Linked DNA regions of Homo sapiens: all the other regions are linked to region 6. The links are contacts of gene promoters, found by promoter capture Hi-C in human tissues and cell types (Jung and others, 2019). All regions are on one chromosome and are shown on one strand. Each heading gives the region's core, a stretch centred on a gene start or on the middle of the fragment in contact. The rest is flanking DNA. Distances are from core to core; before and after follow the strand shown.

Region 1 (3,337 bases), core at 690-3,189, 300 kb before region 6:
ACAGCTATACAAAAATATTTTCTTTCTTTATATCTTTATTCTATAAGCTTTTTTCTACTTATAAATTTTCTATTTCTTTTTTACTTTTTTTTTTTTGAGACAAAGTTTTACTCTTGTTGCCCAGGCTTGAGCGCAATGGCGCTATCTCGGCGCACTGAAACCTCCACCTCCCGGGTTCACGCCATTCTCCTGTCTCAGCCTCCTGAGTAGCTGGGATTACAGGTGCCCGCTACCACGTCTGGCTAATTTTTTGTATTTTTAGTAGGGACAGGTTTTACCATGTTGGCCAGGCTAGTCTCAAACTCTTGACCTCAGGTGATCTGCCTGTGTCGGCCTCCCGAAGTGCTGGGATTAATAGGCGTGAGCCACCGCTCCTGGCCTTTATTTTTTATTTTTAACATTTTTAACTTTTTTGTTAAAACTCAGACACAGATACACTAGCCTAAGCCTACACAGGGTCAGGATGCTTAGTGTCACTATCTTCCACTACCACATCTTGTCCCGCTGGACGGTCTTCAGGGCAATAACACGCATGGAGCTGTCATCTCCTATGATAACAAAGCCTTTTGCTTGAATACCTCCTGAAGGACCTATCTAAGACTGTTTACGGTTAAATTTTATTTTCTTATAAGTAGGAGGAGTGTACACTGTAAAATAACAATAAAAGTGTAGGATAGTAAACACATAAACAAGTAACAGTCATTTATTACCATTATCAAGTATGATGTCCTGTACACAATTGTATGTGCTATATTTTATATGACTGGCAGCACTGTAGGTTTGCTTACACCAGCATCACCACACACGTGAGTCATGCATTTTGCTTTGACATTACGATAGCTATGTAACTAGGTGATAGAAATTTGTCAGCTCCATTATAACCTTAGGGCACCACCGTGGTATCTGTGGTCTTTCTTGACCAAAACGTTGTTATATGGTACATGACTGTATTTCAATCTCCATCTGTCCCCTCCCCACCCCTAAGTAACCCTAACCATGGAAGCCCAGGAGGAAGATCAGAGAGGGTCAACTGGAGAAATGACAGTTCATGCTGACCGGGTTGATAACATTTCCCAGAGAGGGAAAATGTGGTGAAGAGACAAAGGAAAGAAACTAACAAATACTGAATCTATACTGGACTGGACTCTGTACTTCATATTAGCCTCAGAATTACCAAAGGAGATGCACCGACGTATACTGATTTTACATATGCACTGATTAAAAGCGCAGGGAGGGTAGGTCTTGAGACTGGGAATCCAAATTAGGTTTGCCAAGTTATTTTCACAATACACGATACCTCCCATTGGGGAGCACATCCTCTCGGAAGCCTAAAGTTGGGTCAAAGAACAACGACATCCTAGAACGTCAGAGTGGAAGAGGCCTTAGAGATCACTCAACTCAACTTCTCATTTACAGATGGGGAAACTGAGGCCCAAACAGGGGAAATGACCAGCCCAGAATCCCAGTAAGTCGCCAACTCTCCAAGCCAAGAGCGGTCTGACCTAGTTGATGGCGACCCCGCGGGAGAGGGAATTACTCCGCGAAAGGTCGAGGGATCAAGGTGCTGGGGGAAGTCGGCTAAAGGGGGACGCGGGACCACGAAGCTGGGCAGGCCTTGGGTGGGTGGGGAAGAGCAGCCGGCAGAGTCGCGATGGCAAACCTGTCACGACAGAGCTCGCAGGTCCCGAAGTGGGGGTGAGGGTGGGGGTTGAGGATGGGAAGACCTGGGGCAGGGGAACAGCAGGCAGGAGACCGAGGTGGGGCCTCGGCGGCGGGCGAGGCCTCTTCCGCCCTGCGTTGCCTCCCGCCCTCCCTCCGGGCCGGCCCTCCCCGCCTGGCTGCCCGCCGCGCCCCGGGGCCTCACCTGCTCCTGCGGGGGCCGGAGCCGGGGCCGCAGCCAGCGAACCCCCGCCAGGGTTGTCAAGGAGCGAAACAAGAGTGTCTTAGCAACCAGCAAGGAAGTCCTGCCCCCTCACCGGACGTTGACGAGAATTTCACTTATTATTGGTGGATAAAAGTATCAATCAGAGTGAAAGGCCCTTATAAGTCAGGCGTTTGCAAGGACAGGGGCGTGGTTTAGAGGCCAGGGAGGCGGGACTTCACTTATAGTTGTCTTAAGCGTGCCCGAGGAGCAGGGGACACATTGAAGTTCTTTTTCTAGGGAAACAAACTTCGAAAAGCAGTACTGCCTTGGGAGGTTCTTTTAGTCACTTGAAATAACAAATGCAACTTGTTGGTGTCGTGACACTTAGCCACTACTTTATTGGGATCTGAAAAGCCTGATAATAACTAGCATTTTTGTAGGGCTGTACAATTAATATCTCACTTGATTCTCATTACAGTACTTTTAGGTGATAATATTCGTCATCCCATCTGAACTAAAGTTCAGAGAGGTTAAGTAACTTGGTAAAGGATGGAGGTAATCTCCCTGGAGAAGGAACCCAGGGGCTCCTTCCTCTGTGCCACACCCTTGTATGGTCACCTAGCTCTAGTCACTAGGAGACATTTGTACCACCTAATTTCAGACACAGTTGCCCAGAGCCTGCCTTTTCTTCCCCTTGGGAGGGAAAATTAATCCGAAAGTACGGAGAAGGAAAAGGGGAAAGGGGAAGAACTGGCGGATTCTATTATTTGATTGGTAGATCAAAGGGTCAGTTGGGTACTTCGTAGTTTAAACCTTTATTATTGTGATGAGTACTTGGGGTGAAACCCCACTGCCACATTTACTAGCATTGAAGCTGTCTTTGCCAAAATTATAACTGAGGAAATTATGACAGTGAAAGAGATCAGACCTAACCCACTCCATCTTGCCTTTCTAGCCTTTAAGCTGTCTTTGTTCATTCCTAGGCATAGGCTGAACGAACCTTGGGAAGGAATTTAGTTTATAGTTTTACTCTGAAACAAAATTGACAATAGCCCTTTCCCAAAAAGGCTCCCTTCCTGCCTTGGGACCAGTCTGCCTTTGTAGGACTAACAAATTAGCTACAACATTAGAAATTATGGTTTAGGGGTCACACAGCAGCCTCTGGCTGCAAGAGTCTGAACCTTCCCAAATTGCTCCTGGGGATAACATCACTATTGTAAAACCTAAGATCAGCGCTTGAGATATTTTGCAGACCCTGCGCTCGATGGATCAGCTGACACCACCCAGACCAGTAATGTGGCTCAAACAGTTCTGTGATCCCACCCAGGAACAGAAGACAGCAAGAAAACCTCACTTCGACCCCCTCAGTATTCCATCTTCGACTTAATCAATCAACACTCCTCGCTTGCCAAGCCCCTACCCACAAAATTATCTTTAAAACCTCTGATCCCTGAATGCTTGGGTAGCATATTC
Region 2 (3,368 bases), core at 65-2,564, 420 kb after region 6:
CAGTGAAATGGAGGCGGAAACTCAAAGTTTCCACCTTCACAGGGCCTGACTGGAAGGGGCTGAAGGATGATGGGGAGGTTTCTTGTATTCTTAAAACAGACTACCCCTTCCCAACGCACAACCCCCAGTAAGTGGCCGTGGGTTCCCAAGCGCCTCTCCTCCCTGGGCCATGGGCGTGACTGCTGAAAAGCGGGTTAGGCCGGGGAGTTCAGAATCCGGAGTGAATCCGAACTACCCCAGGGAGACGGCAGCGAAGAAAATCTTGTTCTTAGGAGAACGCAATCTTCGGACACCAGAAGTTCCTCTATGATGCTATTCTGTGGCAGCCTTGCACTTGAGCCGGATGAAAATTGTAAAAACCCAGGTTGGGCGACAGGACGGCGCGTCTTCCCGGCTCCTTTCCAGAGTTTAGGAGGAGCCATGCAGACTCAGCCGGCCTTTGGGGGTAGGTGGACAGGCCCGGCGCGCCCTCTCGAGGCCCCTTCAACCTCCCGGGGGCAGCAGCGCCGTGTCGGCTATGAATGGGGCCTCTGGAAAACTCAGGCTTGGAACAGGTAACCCCCCGGTTTCCGCAGGCCACAAATCACCACCCGCAACCGAAGGACGCGCAGGCTGGGAGCGGCGGCGGGGCCACCAGTGCGGACCTCCACTGAGGGCGGCGGGATCCGACCGCAAGGGCTGGTCCCTGAGGCCACTAAGGGGTGCGCTGGGCTAAGGCCGCCTGGGGGCAGGAGCCAGCGCGATCGTGGCGGGCCAGCAGGCGGGGCTGGCTGAGGACTAGCAGCGACCCGAGACCCCAACCCTTCCCACGCGGACCCCGGGATCCCTCTCCCAGCAGCCGCCCATCTAGGGCCCTGAGCCAATAAGAGCTCGAGATATATATGATTCACCGGGCCTGGGCCAATCACCTTGACGCGCGCTCTTCGCCAGCACCTCGCGCGATAACCTGGCGTCCTCGGCCTTCACAATAAAAACTCTTCGCCGGAAAACGACCTTTCCCCGCCCACTGCGCTGACACCGGAAGCGAGGCGTGTCTGGGAGATCACTCCGCGCTCCGGCGGCGAAGGAAAGAACGGACTCTGATCATAGAAGCCTAGTAAAGTAGTACACCTCTCTCCTTTCGTGAGGCCATAAGAACAAACTCCTTTTCTCGTCACAGCTACGCCCTGGGCATAAACGGTTGGGGCGTCAAAGGGAGGGAGGGAAGGGAGCGGGCGGGAGGAGACGGTCACGTGGTCGCGGCGGAAGGATGCGTCTGTGCTGCGTCCCCATAGAGACGAAGTCTATAAAGGGCCGGCGGGCGGCCACGGCAGCCATTTCTACTTTGCCCGCCCACAGATGTAGTTTTCTCTGCGCGTGTGCGTTTTCCCTCCTCCCCGCCCTCAGGGTCCACGGCCACCATGGCGTATTAGGGGCAGCAGTGCCTGCGGCAGCATTGGCCTTTGCAGCGGCGGCAGCAGCACCAGGCTCTGCAGCGGCAACCCCCAGCGGCTTAAGCCATGGCGTGAGTACCGGGGCGGGTCGTCCAGCTGTGCTCCTGGGGCCGGCGCGGGTTTTGGATTGGTGGGGTGCGGCCTGGGGCCAGGGCGGTGCCGCCAAGGGGGAAGCGATTTAACGAGCGCCCGGGACGCGTGGTCTTTGCTTGGGTGTCCCCGAGACGCTCGCGTGCCTGGGATCGGGAAAGCGTAGTCGGGTGCCCGGACTGCTTCCCCAGGAGCCCTACAGCCCTCGGACCCCGAGCCCCGCAAGGGTCCCAGGGGTCTTGGCTGTTGCCCCACGAAACGTGGCAGGAACCAAGATGGCGGCGGCAGGGCGGCGGCGCGGGCGTGAGTCAAGGGCGGGCGGTGGGCGGGGCGCGGCCGCCCTGGCCGTATTTGGACGTGGGGACGGAGCGCTTTCCTCTTGGCGGCCGGTGGAAGAATCCCCTGGTCTCCGTGAGCGTCCATTTTGTGGAACCTGAGTTGCAAGCAGGGAGGGGCAAATACAACTGCCCTGTTCCCGATTCTCTAGATGGCCGATCTAGAGAAGTCCCGCCTCATAAGTGGAAGGATGAAATTCTCAGAACAGCTAACCTCTAATGGGAGTTGGCTTCTGATTCTCATTCAGGCTTCTCACGGCATTCAGCAGCAGCGTTGCTGTAACCGACAAAGACACCTTCGAATTAAGCACATTCCTCGATTCCAGCAAAGCACCGCAACATGACCGAAATGAGCTTCCTGAGCAGCGAGGTGTTGGTGGGGGACTTGATGTCCCCCTTCGACCAGTCGGGTTTGGGGGCTGAAGAAAGCCTAGGTCTCTTAGATGATTACCTGGAGGTGGCCAAGCACTTCAAACCTCATGGGTTCTCCAGCGACAAGGCTAAGGCGGGCTCCTCCGAATGGCTGGCTGTGGATGGGTTGGTCAGTCCCTCCAACAACAGCAAGGGTGAGTGGGCCACCACCACATCGTCCTGGTGGGATCTAGGGTTAGGGGCCTCCTACCTTTGTATCTGACTCACTTGGCCCCATCACTCAAATGTTTTGCAGAGGATGCCTTCTCCGGGACAGATTGGATGTTGGAGAAAATGGATTTGAAGGAGTTCGACTTGGATGCCCTGTTGGGTATAGATGACCTGGAAACCATGCCAGATGACCTTCTGACCACGTTGGATGACACTTGTGATCTCTTTGCCCCCCTAGTCCAGGAGACTAATAAGCAGCCCCCCCAGACGGTGAACCCAATTGGCCATCTCCCAGAAAGTTTAACAAAACCCGACCAGGTTGCCCCCTTCACCTTCTTACAACCTCTTCCCCTTTCCCCAGGGGTCCTGTCCTCCACTCCAGATCATTCCTTTAGTTTAGAGCTGGGCAGTGAAGTGGATATCACTGAAGGAGATAGGAAGCCAGACTACACTGCTTACGTTGCCATGATCCCTCAGTGCATAAAGGAGGAAGACACCCCTTCAGATAATGATAGTGGCATCTGTATGAGCCCAGAGTCCTATCTGGGGTCTCCTCAGCACAGCCCCTCTACCAGGGGCTCTCCAAATAGGAGCCTCCCATCTCCAGGTGTTCTCTGTGGGTCTGCCCGTCCCAAACCTTACGATCCTCCTGGAGAGAAGATGGTAGCAGCAAAAGTAAAGGGTGAGAAACTGGATAAGAAGCTGAAAAAAATGGAGCAAAACAAGACAGCAGCCACTAGGTACCGCCAGAAGAAGAGGGCGGAGCAGGAGGCTCTTACTGGTGAGTGCAAAGAGCTGGAAAAGAAGAACGAGGCTCTAAAAGAGAGGGCGGATTCCCTGGCCAAGGAGATCCAGTACCTGAAAGATTTGATAGAAGAGGTCCGCAAGGCAAGGGGGAAGAAAAGGGTCCCCTAGTTGAGGATAGTCA
Region 3 (3,251 bases), core at 246-2,745, 380 kb before region 6:
CCTCCTGAGTAGCTGGGATTACAGGCAACTGCCACCACATGCAGCTAATTTTTTTTTTTTTTGTATTTTTAGTAGAGAAGGGGTTTTCACCATGTTGGCCAAGCTGGTCTCGAATTCCTGACCTCAGGTGATTCACCCACCTTGGCCTCCCAAAGTGCTGGGATTATGGGCATGAGCCACCATGCATAGCTGAACACTCACCTCTTTTTATGATAGCATTCTATATGCAACTTACTTTTTTTTTCCCCTTAAAAGCATATTTTGGAGATTAGTCCATATCAGTAGATAAAAATTTCTTCTTTTGTACAGCACATTTCATACACGTGCCCTGATTTATGTAACCAGTCCTTACGGTGATATTTGGAAACATTTATTGTTACTGGAAGGATAGTAATAGTAATAACAGGTGCAATTGCTTAAACACCTAGTTCCTGCTAGTTGTGTGCTGGACACTTCATGTGTGTTGTGACATTTAAACATCAAGTGACCCTCTGAAGTGGATATTGTTATCTCCCCATTTTACAGATGGGGAAACTGAGGGCCAGTGATGTTAAGTTGAATCCACTTTTTGTTGTTGTTGTTTATGAGACACAGTCTCGCTCTGTCACCCAGGCTAGAGTGCAGTAGCTCGATCATGGCTCACTGCAGCCACAACCTCCCAGGCTCAAGTGATCCTCCCACCTCAGCCTCCCAAGTAGCTGAGACTACAGCGTATCCTGCCACACCCAGTCAATTTTTCTTTTTTTTGTAGGGTGGGGGAAACAGAGTTTCGCTCTTGTTGCCCAGGCTGGAGTGCAATGGCACGATCTCGGCTCACCACAACCTCCACCTCCCAGATTCAAGCGATTTTCCTGCCTCAGCCTCCTGAGTAGCTGGGATTACAGGCATGTGCCACCACGCCTGGCTAATTTTGTATTTTAGTAGAGACAGGGTTTCTCCATGTTGTTCAGGCTGGTCGCGAACTCCCGACCTCAGGTGATCCGCCTGCCTTGACCTCGCAAAGTGCTGGGGTTACAGGAGTGAGCCACCGTGCCCAGCCTTAATTTTTGTATTTTTTTGTAGAGACGGAGGTCTTACCAGGTTGTCCTGCCTGGTCTCAAACTCCTGGCCTCAAGTGATCTGCCTTCCTTGGCCTCCCAAAGTGCTGGGGTTACAGGCATGAGCCACTGCTCCTGACTTGGATTCATTTTGATGGCTCAGGACAGTTGTTTCCCTGACTGGGTTTATCTTTTTTATTGTTTGCAAGTCTCCTCCGATTTTGACGCCCCACATCATCGAGTCAGGGGTTAACGTGATTTTTGCCCAGCCCAGCTTTCATCCACATCTGCTTTTGAGCCCCTGTGTCCACCCAGCAGCAATCTCTTTCTCTCTCGTCCTGACACTTCCTTTCTGTGTTGGGGCAGGTGGGCAGCAATGCTGGCATCGTGGGGATGACCAAAGAACACCTGGGCTTGGCACTGGCACTCAATGTACCTGTCTTTGTGGTAGTCACCAAGATTGACATGTGTCCTGCCAACATCCTGCAAGGTAAGTGAAGCCTCCAGCTAGCAGCAGCCCCTCTGATTGGGGCTGTCACCTGCTGTGCCTTCAGGTGGTCTGCTACCACGGCTTTAGCCCAGAAACTTCTTTTCTTTTTTATTTTTATTTTTTTATTTTACAATATGTTTATTTTTATTATGTGCTCTACATTGAACACTTCAGCAAAGAAAATAATTATAATAATTTCAAAATGCAATCCCTGGATCCAATAACTATCCTTTATAATCCGTTACACTGGTCAGTATCTAGAAATATATGTAGACAAAGTTAGCTAATGAATAAAATAAGTAAAATGACTAGGTAAACTATAAATTTCAAGCATGAGGGATCATGCATGATCAGTTAAGTCACTCTGCCACTTTTTAAAATAATATTCACATTTGCTTCAATCACATAAACATTCATTGCAGGAGTTAAATTTGACTGCTGATAACAATTGAAAGCTGTGATCTTTGTTAGCTTAAAAGAAAATTCAGCTTAATACAAAGACATTCAAGATGAAAATTTCAGGACCCTTGATCAGAAGCTTTCAATGTGTGTTGCTCCACTTTGTTGTAGGCAAGCTTCAAGTAAGGCTAAGACAGAAGAGTGTTTCTACTGAAGATGTGATCTAAGAATTGCCTTCTACAGAGGCGAATTATATTCTGTAGAAACTAGCTAGCCACCAAGATGTTACCAATAAAGGATTCCTTATACTAGCAACTAACCATGTTTAAAAGGCCTTAGCCATTTAGAGTAATATTTATGAGTACAAGCATAATTGGTTCCTTGCCTTCTACAGATAATCATCTATAAAATGATAAAAGCAGGCTTCAACTGTGTTTCTTCTCTGGGGTGAGAAGGTGCAGATACACATGGGTGATCTACTGATTTACCTTCTGAAAGTACTCTTTGGAAGCAGCTGGATTTGGCTTGATTGTAGGAGAATCCAGTGTCCAGTTTGCTGGGCAGACTTCTCCATGGGTTTCTACATACTGGAACGCCTTCACCAAGTGGAGGGTTTCTTCCACGCTTCGGCCCACTGGGAGGTCATTGACGCTCAAGTGCTTGATGACTCCATTGGGGTCAGTTATGAAGAGACCTCTTAGTGCAAGACCAGAACCTTCTAACAGCACACCGTAGTCTCAGGAAGTTTGCTCAAATCTGACAAGAGTGGGATGTTCATGTGGTCCAAACCACCATTATTTCTTGGTGTATTTATCCAGGCAAGATGACTAAAGTGGGAATCCACTGAGACCACAACTTCACAGTTCACATCATGAAATTCCTTAGCTTTGTCACTAAAAGCAACAGTTTCTGTAGGACCACGAAGGTGAAATCCAAAGGATAGAAGAAAAGCACCAAATTATTTCCCCTTAAAGTCATCAAGGCTTAGGTCTTTGAACTCTCCATTGACAATGGCTGTACCCTTAAAATAGGGTGCATGCTGGGCGACAGCAGGTGCATGGTATGAGGAGCTGGTGCTAAAGAATTTTGCTTGACTGGAACCAGACCATAATATGTTTGTCAAGCTCGTTCTTCCAGAAGCAGCAAGCTTGAGGGCTGCAGTGGCAGAAATGCCCCAAGGAATGGCACTCACATGTCGGGCAGCCGATGCTCAGAGTAGCCTTCCCACAGCAGCTACCATCTTCAGTGCACGCGGGCGAAACTTCCTTTGTCTTGTACTTAGGTCTTGGCCTGAATTTCCATCAGCCCAGAATCTTCTGCTACTT
Region 4 (3,520 bases), core at 401-2,900, 260 kb before region 6:
GCCTTGGACTGAGGCAATCAGCTCAAGGGGCGCATTTCATCTCAGGGCTGGAAGGGCGGGCTGGGGCAGGGTGTCCCTGGTCCCAGGTACTGTTCTGTCCTCAGTTCTCCACCCGCTCTGTGCCAAGCTTGAGGCCAGAGGGGCATGCGGGAGTGAGGCTGTGCACCGGGCCCATCATAGGCACTTGGCATGTGTTTACTCATGAATCCTCGCAGCTGCTCGCTGAGGCTGGCACTCTTCGTATCCCCATTTCACAGATGGGAAACCAAGGCAGGAGTCGTTTTGAATTGTCTATAGCAATGGGGCTGGGCCAAACCGATACCCCTGGAGCCAGCATCTCCTCTCTCCAGCAAAGGGAGAGAGGGAGGAAGACTTGCCAGGAAGAACAGAGGGAGGAAGATCTGCCAGCAAGAACAGGGAGTCGAGGCTATTTAAACAGACGCTGTTTGGAGGAGAAAACGTGCGGGCTGAGGGGGTGTGCGCTCAAGCTGTTCTTTTGTCAGAGCCACTGGCTCTGCAGCGGCCAGGAAGGCCATGGAGGAGGTGGGCTCGCCGGATCGTGTGTGAGTCCCTCCCCGTCCCAGTGTCTGAATCAGAAGAACACGACTCCCGCACCCCCACTTCCCATCTGCTGTGGGCGCAGGCTGTGCCGCGTGGGCTCCCGGCCCGATGCCAACTGGGCCCCTCACCTAAGATGATGGAGGGAATGATGACGCCAGCACCCCCACTCAGCTCCTGCTGGGGCAGAAAGGTGGAGGCTGGGAACCCATGGCCTGTCCCGCTGGGAGTCCGGGGTGGGGTTTGGCGTAAGTGTGCTGGGCCTAGAGCCAGAGCCCCTTGTTCTAGGCCTGGCTCAGCCATAATGTGCTGGGCTCATTAGCACTCAATCAGAATGCTAACGGCAGCAGCTGTCTCCATCGAGCACTCGCTGCATGCCAGGCCCCGCACTAGGGAAGATCTGTGCAAACAGTTCTAGGCTGCTCTCAACAGCCTGGGGAAGTAGGGAGGCCCACTCAGAGATGAGGGAACTGAGGCTCAGTGCCTGTCTAAGGTCACATACCTGTGACGCTGCAGAGCCAGCACTCCAGCCTGGCCTTCCTGATCCTGAAATCTGTGCTCATTCCTCAGGCTCACACTGATGGTCTGGGTCTGTTGGTTGATCTGCCAAGTGGGCACAGTGCTGGTTGCCCTGCCTAACTCGAAGGCAAGCAGGAGAGGTACTAATGGCCACGGGAAGTCTAGAAGATCCAGAAGGTTGTGTGAGACTATGGCGCAGGGCAGCTTCACAAAGGGAGACTGATAGGAGGGTCCTGCCAGCGTGGGGTGGCTGAGGCTGGGAGGATGCAGGGAAACCCCATCACCTTAGCCCCACCCGGGGTCTATTCCCTTGCTGCAGGGAGCAGAAGGCAGGTGCAGGACTCCAGGGCCAGAGTCCCATCCTCTGCACAGCCCACAGACTGTGCTCATTCCTCAGGCCTACACTGCTGGTCTGGGTCTGTTGAGGGTCAGGGTCCCACCCTCTGCACCACTGCCCCTGCCCAGGATCACCCAGGTAGTGGTACTCCCAGCTGGCAGTGAGGCAGAGGCTGTTCTGGGACGGCCAGACCACCAGGTTTTGCAACGGTGGGAGTTTGGGGTCAGAAAGCTTTCTCAGAGAAACCCCATCCTGCCACCCCACCTCCCTCACCAGGGGCAGACTGCAGGGGCACCAGGACCAGGTGGAAAGTGAGCAGCCTTCAGGGGGAGCAGTGTGGACCACGGCCCCTCACCTCCCCCATCCAACCATCCCCTGAGTTCTGAGTCCTGCTAGGGCTCACACCTGGGCTTCACCAGCTGAGTGGCCTTGTTATGTAACGGTGCCATGCCTCAGTTTCCCCATTGGCCCCAAAGGGTAAAAGAGTAAATCTCATAGCATCGTGGTGAGGATTGACTGAGTTCATAGACAGAAAGCGCTTAGTGCGCGGTAGGCATAGGAAGCATCACAGGCGTGTCTACTATTAATGTCGTGACTAACAATTTTTTTTTTTTTTTTGCGATGGAGTTTCTTTTTTTTTTGAGACAGAGTCTCGCTGTTGCCCAGGCTGGAGTGCAGTGGCACGATCTCGGCTCACTGCAGGCTCCGCCCCCCTGGGGTTCACGCCATTCTCCTGCCTCAGCCTCCCGAGTAGCTGGGACTACAGGCGCCTGCCACCTCACCCAGCTAATTTTTTGTATTTTTAGTAGAGATGGGGTTTCACTGTGTTAGCCAGGATGGTCTCCATCTCCTGACCTTGTGATGGGGATCAGCTGATTGGAAACGTTTGGTTCTTGAGCCTGGGCAGGGGCCTGGGTAGTAGTATTTATGCCTTTTTGCCCATCTGAAATACTTGACATGATTTTCTTTTAAAAACAGGAAAACAATCCTAAAGTGGCATCTCTAGTGGTTGAATCTAACCCTGCTTCTTACCCAGAGCTTCATGAAGTGGTGTCTCTAATGCTTGAATCTAAACCTGCGTCTCGCCCAGAGCTTCACTCAGCTCCTAGCCTTCTCCCTAGTCCTGGCTACTCTCCGCTGGACTGTGCCACAGCTTCCACTCCCACCCTCCACACAGCGGCCAGAGGCAAATCCAGCCATGTTGCTCTCCTGCTTAAAATCCTTCCACAGCCCCGTCTCCCTGCCAATAAAGTCCCTGTCCTCCTGGCTTCAGCCCTTACCCCGACAGGACATAGGTCACGCCCACTGAAAGTCCTCTGCTGCTCAACTGCCCCAAACTCCTTCTCACCCTAAGGCCTCCACACATGCTGTTCCTTCTCCAAGAACATTCTTCCCGCCCCCACCCCTCCTCTGCCCATTGCCTGCTCATCCTCCAGATGGCAGCTTCCCTGATGCCTGAACTGAGATGCTCTATAGAGAGAGAAGAGGGCCCTGAGAGCTTCTCTGGCAGGGCTGCAGAGCACTCATCCATCCATCCATCCATCCATCATCCATCCATCCATCCATCCATCCATCCATCCATCCATGTGTGCCGCAGCAACATGGCGTCGTAGTTGCAGACACGAACTGTCACGTTAGACAGGCCAGCGTCATTTTCAGTTCCTTGCTTACTAGATCTGCGACCTTGGGCAAGCTGCTTAACTCCTCTGGCCCTCAGTTACCTTATCTGTAAAATGGGTGTAATAATAGTACCTACATTTGGGGATATAAATAATGATAAAATGAAAGAACAGATATGAAGTGTGGTCAACCATAAGAGGCAGTACGTGGTTGTCACATTACTATTATTCTTTGCTGTTATTGAGAGGCAGGAGAGCATAATGTGTCATGGTGCAGGCCCTGGAGCCAGACTGCCTGGGTGGAAATGCCAGCTGAGTGAGCTGGACAAGCTTCTGAAACTTTCTGAGCCTCAGTTTCCTCATCTGTAAAACAGAGATAGTAATAGTACCATAGTTCTTGTGGGATTCAATTGTAAGGCCCTTGACAGGCCTGGTGCAGAGGGTGAGCTCACCCCTGCTGCCTCTTGCCAAGTGCCAGGTGCTGTGG
Region 5 (3,546 bases), core at 47-2,546, 440 kb before region 6:
TGCCACTGCACTCCAGCCTGGGCGACAGAGCGAGACTCTGTCTCGAAAAAAAAAAAAAGTAAAATTTTTTTAAAGTAAAGCAATAAAAGAATGGCTACTCCATAGATAGAACAGCCAAGAGTAAAATTTTAATTTTAATTAATTCAAATTTTGGCCAGGCGCAGTGGCCCGCACCTGTAATACCAGCACTTTGGGAGGCCGAGTCAAGCAGATCACCTGAGGTCAGGAGTTCGAGACCAGCCTGGCCAACATGGTGAAACGCCATCTCTACTAAAAATACAAAAAATTAGCCGGGCATGGTGGTGGGTGCCTGTAATTCCAGCTACTTGGGAGGTGAACACAGCAGAATCGCTTGAACCCGGGAGGCCGAGATCATGCCACTGCAATCCCAGCCTGGGCAACAGAGTGAGACTCTGTCTTAAAAAAAAAAAAAATTAAATTTTTAAATGGAAGCAGTGCAAATTTAGAAATACTGATTATATCTTGAAATAGTAATGTTTTGGACATATGGAGTTTAAAACATTACTCAAATTAATTTCACTTGGCTTTCTTTTTTACTTTTTAAAAAATGTGGCTACTAGAAAATTCCAAATCACATATGTGGCCTGCTTTATGTTTCTATTGCACAATGCTAAGCCAGATTGTGAAGATTTTAGTTCTAGGACATGGAAGTCTCCCCTCTTTTAATGCAGGGTGGTGTAGTTGGAAGAGAACTGCGCTTGGAGTCAAAGACCCCTGGGTCCTGCCCCTCACTGGATGCCCTGATACACCCACTAGGCAGCCGGTAAACTCCTTGAACGGCCTAAGTTTCTGCACTTATCAGACGGAACCAATAACACACGCTTTTAGGACTCTAGGAGATCTGGAGTTGATTCTCCAGTAGTTCTCTGTCCCTTCCTCACAATGCAACCTTTAAGTAGTCCCTGGGCCTCAGCTTCCCTTGCTTGTAGAAGCCGCCATAACGGCACGGGGAGGGGGCAGGCTGCCAGAGGTGGGTCATGGTGCGTCTGTCCGTCCGTCTTACCTGAAAGCATCGGCGGAATTTGACGAACCCGGGGCCGGTCCCGCCACGGGTCCCTCAGGGGACCCCGCAAAGTTCTGGGTCGGCCCCCGACAGCCGGTGCCCCCAAACTCACAGCAAGGGGTGCCCTTTGCCTTGTGCTGGGGGATGAGGAGGGGAGTTGGGGAGAGGCCCATTTTGCTACTCTGAGTCCAGGCGTTCTCTAGGCAACGCCGGCGCGGTCTCCACTTTCCCGTTTAGCATAACAATGGAACCTTCGTGAGCCGCCGCGTTGTCCGCGAGATGCCGTTTCTATGGTGACAGCCGGGCCGGGGGCCCAGACCAATGTGTCAGTGGAGAGGGTGAATGCAGGTCCTGGTCCTAGAGGCATGAAAAGGACCCCAGAAGACACTGCCTTTGTATAATCCGTTTGCTATCCCGAGGTGATTCACGGAGTTTCTGGGGATTGGCGCAGGCTGGCGCTGGGAACCCCCGCGCCGGTTACCCCTTTCCTCGGTGGTAGAGGCCGGGCGGGGCAGCGCATGCGCGTGGCGGGCAGGCGGCAGGAGGCGGGTGGGTCAAGGTAACTCTGGGCTACAGAGTCCTTGCTGGGGGTTCGGGGAGCGCTTGGACCCCGGCTTCTGGGACGCGTCAGGTACGTCTCCGAGTCCGGCGTCGCCGGCCAGCGCTGCCTGGGTTCACTCGGGGGCCCGAGCTGAGTAGGACGTCCGGGCCTCGCCTGGAGAGAGGCTTCAGGAGGGCCTGGGGAAGGGGACGGAGGCCGGGCGACCCCGGGCGGTGGCCGCCCTCCTCTGTGTGTCTCCGCGGTTGTGAATTGGGGCGGTAATTCCTCCCCGTAGGTCGCCGTGAAGATGATTGCATGAGATCGTGCGTGTGAACGTTTGTTGACAGCTGTTACTTGAGTCCGACAGCCCTGGGGGCCGTGCATCTGCGTAACATGGCTACCTCTGAACTCCTTGGGGGACACGTATATCTTTGAGAATCCGATGAAAACCAGAGATTCCGCCCTTGTTTTCTTAGAATTAAAGTAAGATAATATATTTTATGGCCTGTTGCAAACGGAAAACCTTTACACAATGATTAGTGATTAGTATCAGTATCTGTGGACTGGGAAGGCTCTACTTACTCGATCCTCTTCCCAGGGTCGTTGTGAGGATCAAGTGCACAGCTTCCTATAAACACTAAAACACTATAACATCTTGTGAGCCAGGTACTATTATTATTCCTCAGTGCAAAGAAAGAAGCCGAAGTCCAAGGGGGATAAATGCTGGGGTCCCACTGTGGGTGAGCCGCAGAGTGATCATTGGAAGCCAGGTGCTCCCCCTTCACTTCCTGTGTGCGGAGCACGCTCGCCCTGGGAGTTTCACTAGAAAGAAGGTTGCCATGGGCCAGTGGGACAGCTTGTATCTCAAGTGCACGCGGATGCCCCAGAATCCCAGGATCTCAGCTGAGCTGTTTGTGGATTATTAGATCTGACTTAAAAGGTAGCTAATCCAGACCCTTCCTCATCTGTAATACATGGATGACAGCTCCCAGCTGTAGTGTTATGAGAATTAGTGCGGTCATGAGTAAGGTGCCCAGTTAAAGCCCGAGAAGTAAAGCAGCTGGGCCAAGGTCTAGCAGGCAACTGAAGGGGAGAGCCAGGCCCCTAAACTTGTTGTGTCCAGCCCATGTGCTCAGGCCCAGTGCAGTTAGCATCAGTGGGGACTTGACTTATTTCTCCTTCTTCAAATGTCTCTAGATTTTAGGCATGCTGGGGGCTGCTTCTTAACTGTGTTTTGTTTATTTTGTTCATAAGTAATACATGAATATATTCTCATTGTAATAATTCATTAAATCTCGAGTATATTTAATATAATTTTATATTGTACCATATGAAATTGTCACAATTTGACCTTTTTTTAACCTATAAAATGACAAGTTCATTCAAGTCAGTCATCCTATTCCCTTTTTCAGGTTTAACCACTATGAACAGTTTGGTGTATCCTTCCAGATCTCTTTCTTTCTTTTCTATTTTTTTTTTCTTTGAGATGGGGTCTTGTTCTGTCACCCAGGCTAGAAAGCAGTGGTGCAATTTCAGCTCACTGCAACCTCTGCCTCCTGGGTTCAAGCAATTATCCTGCCTCAGCCTCCTGAGTATCTGGGACAACTGGCGCACACCACCACACCCGACTAATTTTTGTATTTTTAGTAGAAACAGGGTTTCACCATGTTGGCCAGGATAGTCTCGATCTCTTGACCTCGTGATCTGCCCAACTCGGCCTCCCAAAGTGCTGGGATTACAGGCATAAGCCACCGTACCTGGCCTCTTTCTTTTTTTTAATACACACATATATTACTTTATTTTATTTTATTTTTTTTTGAGATGGAGTCTGACTCTGTTGCCCAGGCTGGAGTGCAGTGGTGCGATCTCGGCTCACTGCAAGCTCTGCCTCCTGGGTTCACACCATTGTCCTGCCTCAGCCTTCTGAGTAGCTGGGACTACGAATAGATGGGACTACAGGCTCCTGCCACCATGCCAGGCT
Region 6 (3,350 bases), core at 301-2,800:
CTGCAACCTCTGCCTCCCAGGTTCGAATGATTCCCCTGCTTCAGACTCCTGAGTAGCTGGGATTACAGATGCCCGCCACCACGCCTGGCTAATTTTTGTATTTTTAGTAGAGACGAGGTTTCACCGTGTTGCCCAGGCTGGTCTCGAACTCCTGACCTCAGGTCATCAGCCTGCCTGAGCCTCCCGAAGTGCTGGGATTACAGGCGTGAGCCACAGCACCTGGCCTGGCTCTTTGGTGTTTATGATCTGAAGGGTGTTGGTTGATATGCATGAAGACGAGGACATGGGTTCCAGAATGCAAATGTGAAGTCCAGGTCCTTCATCTCTGACCTGGGAGGCCCTTTAGGAGCAGTAAGTCCCCTCCCTCGTGTCTCCTCTCCTGCTCCTTTCCATGGAGCAATGAAGAACCTCAAAGTAGCTAGCTGTGGGGGAGAAGGGACACAGGAAGTCCTGGCCAGCACTCCAGCTCTGCTGTTGATTTGCTGTGTGACGTGGGGACAGTATCTTAGCCTCTCTGTGCTTGGGACCTCCTCTGACTGTCAGGATCACTGCCCTCCCCTCCCAGTGCTATCTGGGGACTGGGCTAGATAATGGGCACTGGATCCGCTGGAGATGCAGTCCTGAGCCTGACCCCAGTGCTCATTTCACATCAGGCTCAGGGTCCTGCCAGGAGGCTGAATGCCAAAGGTCAGTGGGGTGGTGGGGAGGGGGCTGCAGCCTGCCCTGTCCACCAGGGGAGTGGCATCTGGTCTATGGTGTCAGCCCTGGTCTGGATCCCTGCTCCTTTCTGTGGCTTCTATTCCTTTCATTTATTTTAGTTTAGTTTAGTTTTTGAGACGGAGTTTTGTTCTTATTGCCCAGGCTGGAGTGCGGTTGGCCAGGTTGATTTTGAACTCCTGACTTCAGGCAATCCACCTGCCTCAGCCTCCCAAAGTGCTGGGATAACAGGCACCGTGACCAGCCATCAATTCCTTTCTTTTTTCTTTCTTTTTTATTTTTATTTATTTATTTATTTTTTGAGACAGGGTCTCGTTCTGTTGCCAGGGTGGAGTGCAGTGGTGCGACGTCGGCTCACTGCAACCTCTGCCTCCAAGGTTCAAGCAATTTCCCTGCCTCAGCCTCCCAAGCAGCTGGAACTACAGGCGCAGGCCACCAAACCTGGCTAATTTTTTGTATTTTAGCAGAGACGGGGTTTCACCATGTTGGCCAGGATGGTCTTCATCTCCTTACCTTGTAATTTGCCCACCTCAGCCTCCCAAAGTGTTCGGATTACAGGTGTGAGCCACCGCATCTGGCCTTTGTTCTTTTGTAAACTATACCTGGGGAGGGAGTTGAGTCTGGCTGTACCTGGAGAGGGAATTGGGGGTGGGAGGATGGGAGGTGAGCCACCTCCATCAGACTTCCCCTGCCAAGCCCGAGGAAATAGAGAAAGAAAGGAGCCTGAGGGATCTGAAGCACCCCAGGGCCCTCCCACTCCAGTCCCACAAAAGGAAGAGGGTGGAGCCACCCTCATCAAGCAGTGACTTTTTGTGACTTTTGGGAGAGCTGACCTTTTGTGACTTTTGGGAGAGCTGCCAAAAGTGAAACTTAGTGCCTCAGACAAGCAGGGGCAAGTCTGCTAAGGAAGCTGTGGCCAGAAGCACAGATCAGGTACTGCCGCCCACTCTGTCCACTGGGCCCTCTGCTGCCACTTCCTGCCTGGCAGCCCTTCTGTGCCTCAGCCCTGGCCTCCCGCTGCCCCAGCCCCAGCCCTGGGCTCCTTCTCCTCTGGCTCCCCTGCCATCCCCACTCCCACCCAGGCTCTTTGCCCTGCTGTGTGGTCACCCCACTGCTGCTTCTGAACGGGCCGCCTCCCCGGCCTGCACCAGCCCAAGACCCCTGCTGAGACTCTCCCCTAAGAGTCATGGCTGGGCTAGTGCTCCCCACCTTGGGAGGGTGCTCTCTCTGTGTGCTTCCTGCCATTCCTGGGCTCTGGAACTGGGAGAACTGAACTAAAGGATGATGGGAGCAATCTGGAATTTTGTTCACAGTGCTTTGATGAACTTTGTGTAAGATTACTTTGTTTCAATACAAAGTCTTAGGAGAGGGTGTGGGGAGGCAATGATCTCTGAAGCACAAGGCAAATCATCTCTTCCAAGGATGTCTCCACTGTGGGCAGAGGAGGATGCAGATGACCCTGAACACACACTCCTCCTCCATGATCAGTATTCACATTCACCGTTTATAATGACACCAGTAACACGGAATATACGGAAAAACTCAATGATCAGGAGAAATGCTTTTATTTTAAAATTTAGGAAGAAGAGAGCCTGGTTCCCAAAGGCTCCCTCCTGCAGGGCCCGTGATGCAGAGGCTGGCAGGGCTGGCCAGGAAAGTGGCCCAGCTCCATGGCCTGGGCAGGTTACCCCACCTCTCTGCACCTCTGGCCCCTCCTCTGTAAGATGAGAATGGCCCCTGCAGGCCTAGGGCAGCCTCACGTGAGCTCAGATCCTCTCAGCACTTAGAAGAGTGGCCTGGGCCTGGGGATGGAAGTGCTACCCTGATTTTTTGTTTCGTTTTGTTTTTTTGAGAAGGGGTGTCTCAGTCTGTTGCCCAGGCTGGAGCGCAATCTCGGCTCACTACAAGCTCCACCTCCTGGGTTCACGCCATTTTCCTGCCTGGCCAGGCAAAATGGCTCATGCCTGTAATCCCAACACTTTGGGAAGCTGAGAGGGGAGGATCATCACTAAAGGCCAGGAGTTCCAAACCAGCCTGGGCAACACAGGGAGACCCCCTTATCTACTAAAACTAAAAAAATAAAATAAAATAACATGAATAGGTAAAATGCCAGGAATTAATTGAACTGAAATATTAAGAGCTCTTATTTTGAAGGGGAGAATTTTATTCACTTTTCTTATTTTTAATGGGTTAGAGGATGGGTGGCAGAAATACTGGGAGGATGGGAGATCCATCCCTGGAAAGACCAGAGCTAGGGCCCTGAGCTGGGAGAGGTCACCCCGGCCCTGCTGCCCCTGCCAGCATCTCCTTCTCTTCTCCTCTCCCTGGTCTTCCTGCTTGGGAAAGCTGCAGAAATTCTCAGGACTTGGAGGCTTGAAATGCTCAGGGGTTTTCCAGAAAGCAGAATAGAAAGTAGATGGGCAACCATCAATCAGACAGGCCAAAGAAAAGGAGCTCAGGCCCTCGGGGAGACAGGAGGTGAGCGCATGGGTCACAATCCTGGCGGGGCGCGGTGGCTCACGCCTATAATCCCAGCACTTTGGGAGGCCGAGGTGGGTGGATCACCTGAGGTCAAAGGAGTTCAAGACCAGCCTGGCCAACATGGTAAAACTCCATCTCTACAAAAATACAAA
Region 7 (3,391 bases), core at 892-3,391, 350 kb before region 6:
TCACTGCAACAGAAAGCACCACCCCCTCTAAGAGAGGCTGCTCGAGGCCCAGACACGAGCACCAAGCTGCAGCCACACAGAGACATGTTCATTCTGTTTTCAGGGCCATCTGTTTGATACCTGTTTACTCCTGAGCTCTGGGGCAGGTGGCAGGGGAGCGGGGGAGGGAGGGCTTTCTGTCCTGATAAAGCTCCATTCGCTACTCAAGCACCAGAGGTTGGCAGGTGCAAAAGGAAGCTCATGCCCATGGGGCTTGAAGTCCAGCATGGACATGGCCTTCATGCACACACTCCCCGAGCAGGTCACTGAGCCCCCTCCACGTGCATCTCCATGTGATGGGTTCACAGCACTGACTACAGCAACCCCACAAGGCCATGGTGAAGCTCAAATTGAACTGAGATAATGCACGGGAAAGTGCTCTCTGGGTACATTGCTATGCAATTATAAAGAATCACTGACTGGGCCGGGCGCGGTGGCTCACGCCTGTAATCCCAGCACTTTGGGAGGCCGAGGCGGGTGGATCACGAGGTCAGGAGATCGAGACCATCCTGGCTAATATGGTGACACCCCATCTCTACTAAAAATACAAAAAGAAATTAGCCAGGCGTGGTGGCGGCCGCCTGTAGTCCCAGCTACTCGGGAGGCTGAGGCAGGAGAATGGCGTGAACCTGGGAGGTGGAGCTTGCAGTGAGTCAAGATCGCACGACTGCACTCCAGCCTGGGCGACAGACTCCATCACACACACACAAAAAAGAATCACTGACTGGGCGTGGTGGCTCACACCTGTAATGCCAGCACTTCGGGAGGCCGAGGCAGGTGGATCACTTGAGGTCAGGAGTTTGAGACCAGACTGGCCAACATGGCGAAACCCCGTCTCTACTAAAAATATAAAAATTAGCTGGGCGTGGTGGCATGCACCTGTAATCCCAGCTACTCGGGAGGCTGAGGCAGGAGAATCGCTTGAACCCGGGAGGTGGAGGTTGCAGTGAGCCAAGATTGTGCCACAGCACTCGAGCCTGGGCAACAGAGCAAAACTCCGTCTCAAAAAAAAAAAAAAAAAGAAGAAGAATCATTATTATTTTAAGGGTGGTGCTCAGTTGCCACTGGATATGAACCAGCTGTTCTTGTAGCAGCAAACACAAAAACGAAGCTAACTTTTGGAAAAGTGTTCTACCCTGTTATTAATAAAAGAAATACAAGTTGAATGATATTAAGCTTATAAAACAAACTCTCAAAAAATAATAAAGCATGGTCTTTAATTACTTGGTGCAGTCATTAAAATTGAGCTGAGAGTCACATAGGCAATTCATATGAAACTAGCCAAGCTGTCAAGTAAAAAGCTGAACACAAAATGTCTATATAAACAAGGAAGGGCTGGGTGCAGTGGCTCACACCTGTAATCCCGACACTTTGGGAGGCCGAGGTGGGTGGATCACTTGAGGTCAGGAGTTTGAGACCAGCCTGGCCAACATGGTGAAACCCCGTCTCTACTAAAAATACAAAAATTAGCCATGTGTGGTGCTGCATGCCTGTAATCCCAGCTACTTGGGAGGCTGACGTGGGAGGATCACCTGAGCTCAGAAGGTCAAGGCTGCAGTGAGCTGTGTTCGTGCCACTGCACTTCAGCTGGGGTGACAGAAGAAGACTTTGTCTCAAAACAAACAAAAAACCAAGGCAGGCCTGTGCTAGCGCCTGGGATGATTCAGGACAGCTGGTAAGTGACTGGTGTAAAAAGAGGCACTTATGGCCGGGCACGGTGGCTCATGCCTGTAATCCCAGCACTTTGGGAGGCCGAGGCAGCTGGATCACCTGAGGTCAGGAGTTCGAGACCAGCCTGACAACATGGAGAAACCCCATCTCTAGTAAAAATACAAAATTAGCTGGGCATGTTGGCGCATGCCTGTAATCCCAGCTACTCGGGAGGCTGAGGCAGGAGAATCACTTGAACCTGAGAGGTGGAGGTTGTGGTGAGCTGACATCGCGCCATTGCACTCCAGCCTGGGCAACAAGAGCAAAAACTCTGTCTCAAAAAACAAACAAAAAAGGCACTTATTTCCCTTTGCTGCTTCATTGTTTTTACTTTAAAGACAGCTCAAGATTTAACTTCATCTTGTAAAAATAACTCCCTCATAGCAGATGTCCCTGTTGGAGTGGAAGGAGGATGACTGCTAATGATAATGGGAGGGCATCCCGCTTTTCACCCAATGTTGCGGCACTAGGGTGTGCTCCTGCCCAGGGCGGCACAAAAGAGGCTCAGGAGAGGTGGGGAGGGCCATGCAGAGATGATCCAGGGTCCAGGGCTCAGGCCCTGCCCAGTCACAGGCACACCCCACCCAGTCTTGCCCCTTCCCTGCCTGCCAAAGGTCACCACCCTCTGGTGAACACATCTCTGTGCCTCCCTCTGCTCTCCCCATGCAGGCTCACCATACGTCAGGCACGTCAGCAAGAGCAGCGGCAGCAGGAACCAGAGGAACGTCTTCAGGGACGAGAAGCGCCTGGACCACGCGGGAGGGCAGGACGGGGGAGGCGGAGGTGTGAGGGGAGCTCCAGGCCTCCACGTTCCACCCAGGGAGTACCCTGAGATGTTTTCCTGGGTGCTGAACTAGAGCTAAGGAGGATAGCTTGAGCTTCTCACTGTGCCAGGGCCAGCCTGGACACGTCAGAGCCTTTCCTGCTGGGCAGGTCTTAGAGTGATGGGACAATTTTGACTGAATTTTACTGATGTTATTAAAAATAGTGTGGTCTTTGAAAAACTCAAAAATTTTTATATGGACAGGTCCTCTAAGTATGCAAATATAGAAAAAAAAAGTAACTCCTTAAATAACAACAAGGAACCTGTTTTTGGTGACACAAACCCATCCTTGCCCCTTGTTTCAGTATGGCCAGCTGTCCCCTCTGCCCGGACCTGGATTACGGCCAGAGGGATCCTGACTTCTGGGTTCCGTGTTCTTCTGCCTAAGGGGCACATTCTCAAATCCTGGTTCTGCTGGTTTAGGGACTTGGGGAATGAACCCATAGCATCCTCAGGCAGAGCCTCTTTGTGGCTCTGACCATGAGTGGGGAACTCGGGGGGTTAGATTGTCCCAGGCCCAAGAAGGAAGATGGACTTTCTGGGAAACCCCACTTCTTGCCTGGAGTCAGTGGGCCTACCCTGCAGGAGGAAAGCCATCGTGTGTCTGAGAGCCAGGCACGGCTAGACTAGTGTGGCGTTTAGTAGAATGTGTCCAAGAAGAAATAATCTGTGCTCTGGAATCCTGCCTCGAAGGGCTATCAATTCGGGGAGAAGAACCTGACTCTGAGTCCATCCTCTGTCAGGCAGGGGTGGGCTTTGGGGAAGCTACTCCGTGATCGCTAATAAAGGCTCCAGGGAAACTGGGGAAAACCCTCAGAG

Evidence for each region. Contacts are between HindIII fragments. The study calls those that stand out against the background at their distance.
Region 1: the fragment with the promoter of DNAL4 here is called in contact with the fragment with the promoter of APOBEC3H in region 6 in 12 of the 25 tissues and cell types used here (IMR-90 fibroblasts, adrenal gland, bladder and 9 more).
Region 2: a contact is called between the fragment with the promoter of ATF4 here and the fragment with the promoter of APOBEC3H in region 6, in 2 of the 25 tissues and cell types used here (heart right ventricle and mesendoderm cells).
Region 3: a contact is called between a fragment that was not itself captured here and the fragment with the promoter of APOBEC3H in region 6, in 2 of the 25 tissues and cell types used here (heart left ventricle and heart right ventricle).
Region 4: a contact is called between a fragment that was not itself captured here and the fragment with the promoter of APOBEC3H in region 6, in 5 of the 25 tissues and cell types used here (IMR-90 fibroblasts, adrenal gland, pancreas and 2 more).
Region 5: the fragment with the promoter of FAM227A here is called in contact with the fragment with the promoter of APOBEC3H in region 6 in 1 of the 25 tissues and cell types used here (mesenchymal stem cells).
Region 7: a fragment that was not itself captured here is called in contact with the fragment with the promoter of APOBEC3H in region 6 in 1 of the 25 tissues and cell types used here (bladder).

What each region holds. Positions count from the first base shown.
Region 1 is chr22:38,792,204-38,795,540 of GRCh38, forward strand. It overlaps DNAL4 (dynein axonemal light chain 4), which reads right to left and starts at 1,940. Exons shown (of 4, transcript NM_005740.3): 1 at 1,865-1,940. RefSeq lists a silencer at 1,682-2,131. The HindIII fragment of the contact is 13,707 bases long and covers 1-3,337 here.
Region 2 is chr22:39,519,248-39,522,615 of GRCh38, forward strand. It overlaps ATF4 (activating transcription factor 4), which reads left to right and starts at 1,315. Exons shown (of 3, transcript NM_182810.3): 1 at 1,315-1,504; 2 at 2,107-2,424; 3 at 2,526-3,368. The coding sequence starts at 2,199. The coding sequence ends at 3,355. RefSeq lists a silencer at 653-852 and enhancers at 1,233-1,382, 1,743-1,792. The HindIII fragment of the contact is 4,198 bases long and covers 1-2,696 here.
Region 3 is chr22:38,720,339-38,723,589 of GRCh38, forward strand. GTPBP1 (GTP binding protein 1) reads left to right here. Exons shown (of 12, transcript NM_004286.5): 5 at 1,404-1,527. It also overlaps the pseudogene PRDX3P1. Among named protein-coding and RNA genes, the nearest start is that of GTPBP1, 16 kb to the left of the region's middle. The HindIII fragment of the contact is 3,539 bases long and covers 1-3,251 here.
Region 4 is chr22:38,831,640-38,835,159 of GRCh38, forward strand. The region is part of intron 1 of NPTXR (neuronal pentraxin receptor); the gene reads right to left. Among named protein-coding and RNA genes, the nearest start is that of NPTXR, 11 kb to the right of the region's middle. The HindIII fragment of the contact is 5,879 bases long and covers 1-3,520 here.
Region 5 is chr22:38,655,096-38,658,641 of GRCh38, forward strand. FAM227A (family with sequence similarity 227 member A) reads right to left here and starts at 1,297. Exons shown (of 17, transcript NM_001013647.2): 1 at 1,025-1,297. CBY1 (chibby 1, beta catenin antagonist) reads left to right here and starts at 1,543. Exons shown (of 5, transcript NM_015373.4): 1 at 1,543-1,655. The HindIII fragment of the contact is 5,432 bases long and covers 1-2,230 here.
Region 6 is chr22:39,095,694-39,099,043 of GRCh38, forward strand. APOBEC3H (apolipoprotein B mRNA editing enzyme catalytic subunit 3H) reads left to right here and starts at 1,551. Exons shown (of 5, transcript NM_181773.5): 1 at 1,551-1,650. RefSeq lists enhancers at 673-1,872, 1,195-2,082, 1,413-1,752, 2,083-2,969. The HindIII fragment of the contact is 18,686 bases long and covers 1-3,350 here.
Region 7 is chr22:38,746,289-38,749,679 of GRCh38, forward strand. SUN2 (Sad1 and UNC84 domain containing 2) reads right to left here. Exons shown (of 18, transcript NM_015374.3): 7 at 2,425-2,495. Among named protein-coding and RNA genes, the nearest start is that of SUN2, 8.0 kb to the right of the region's middle. The HindIII fragment of the contact is 3,105 bases long and covers 590-3,391 here.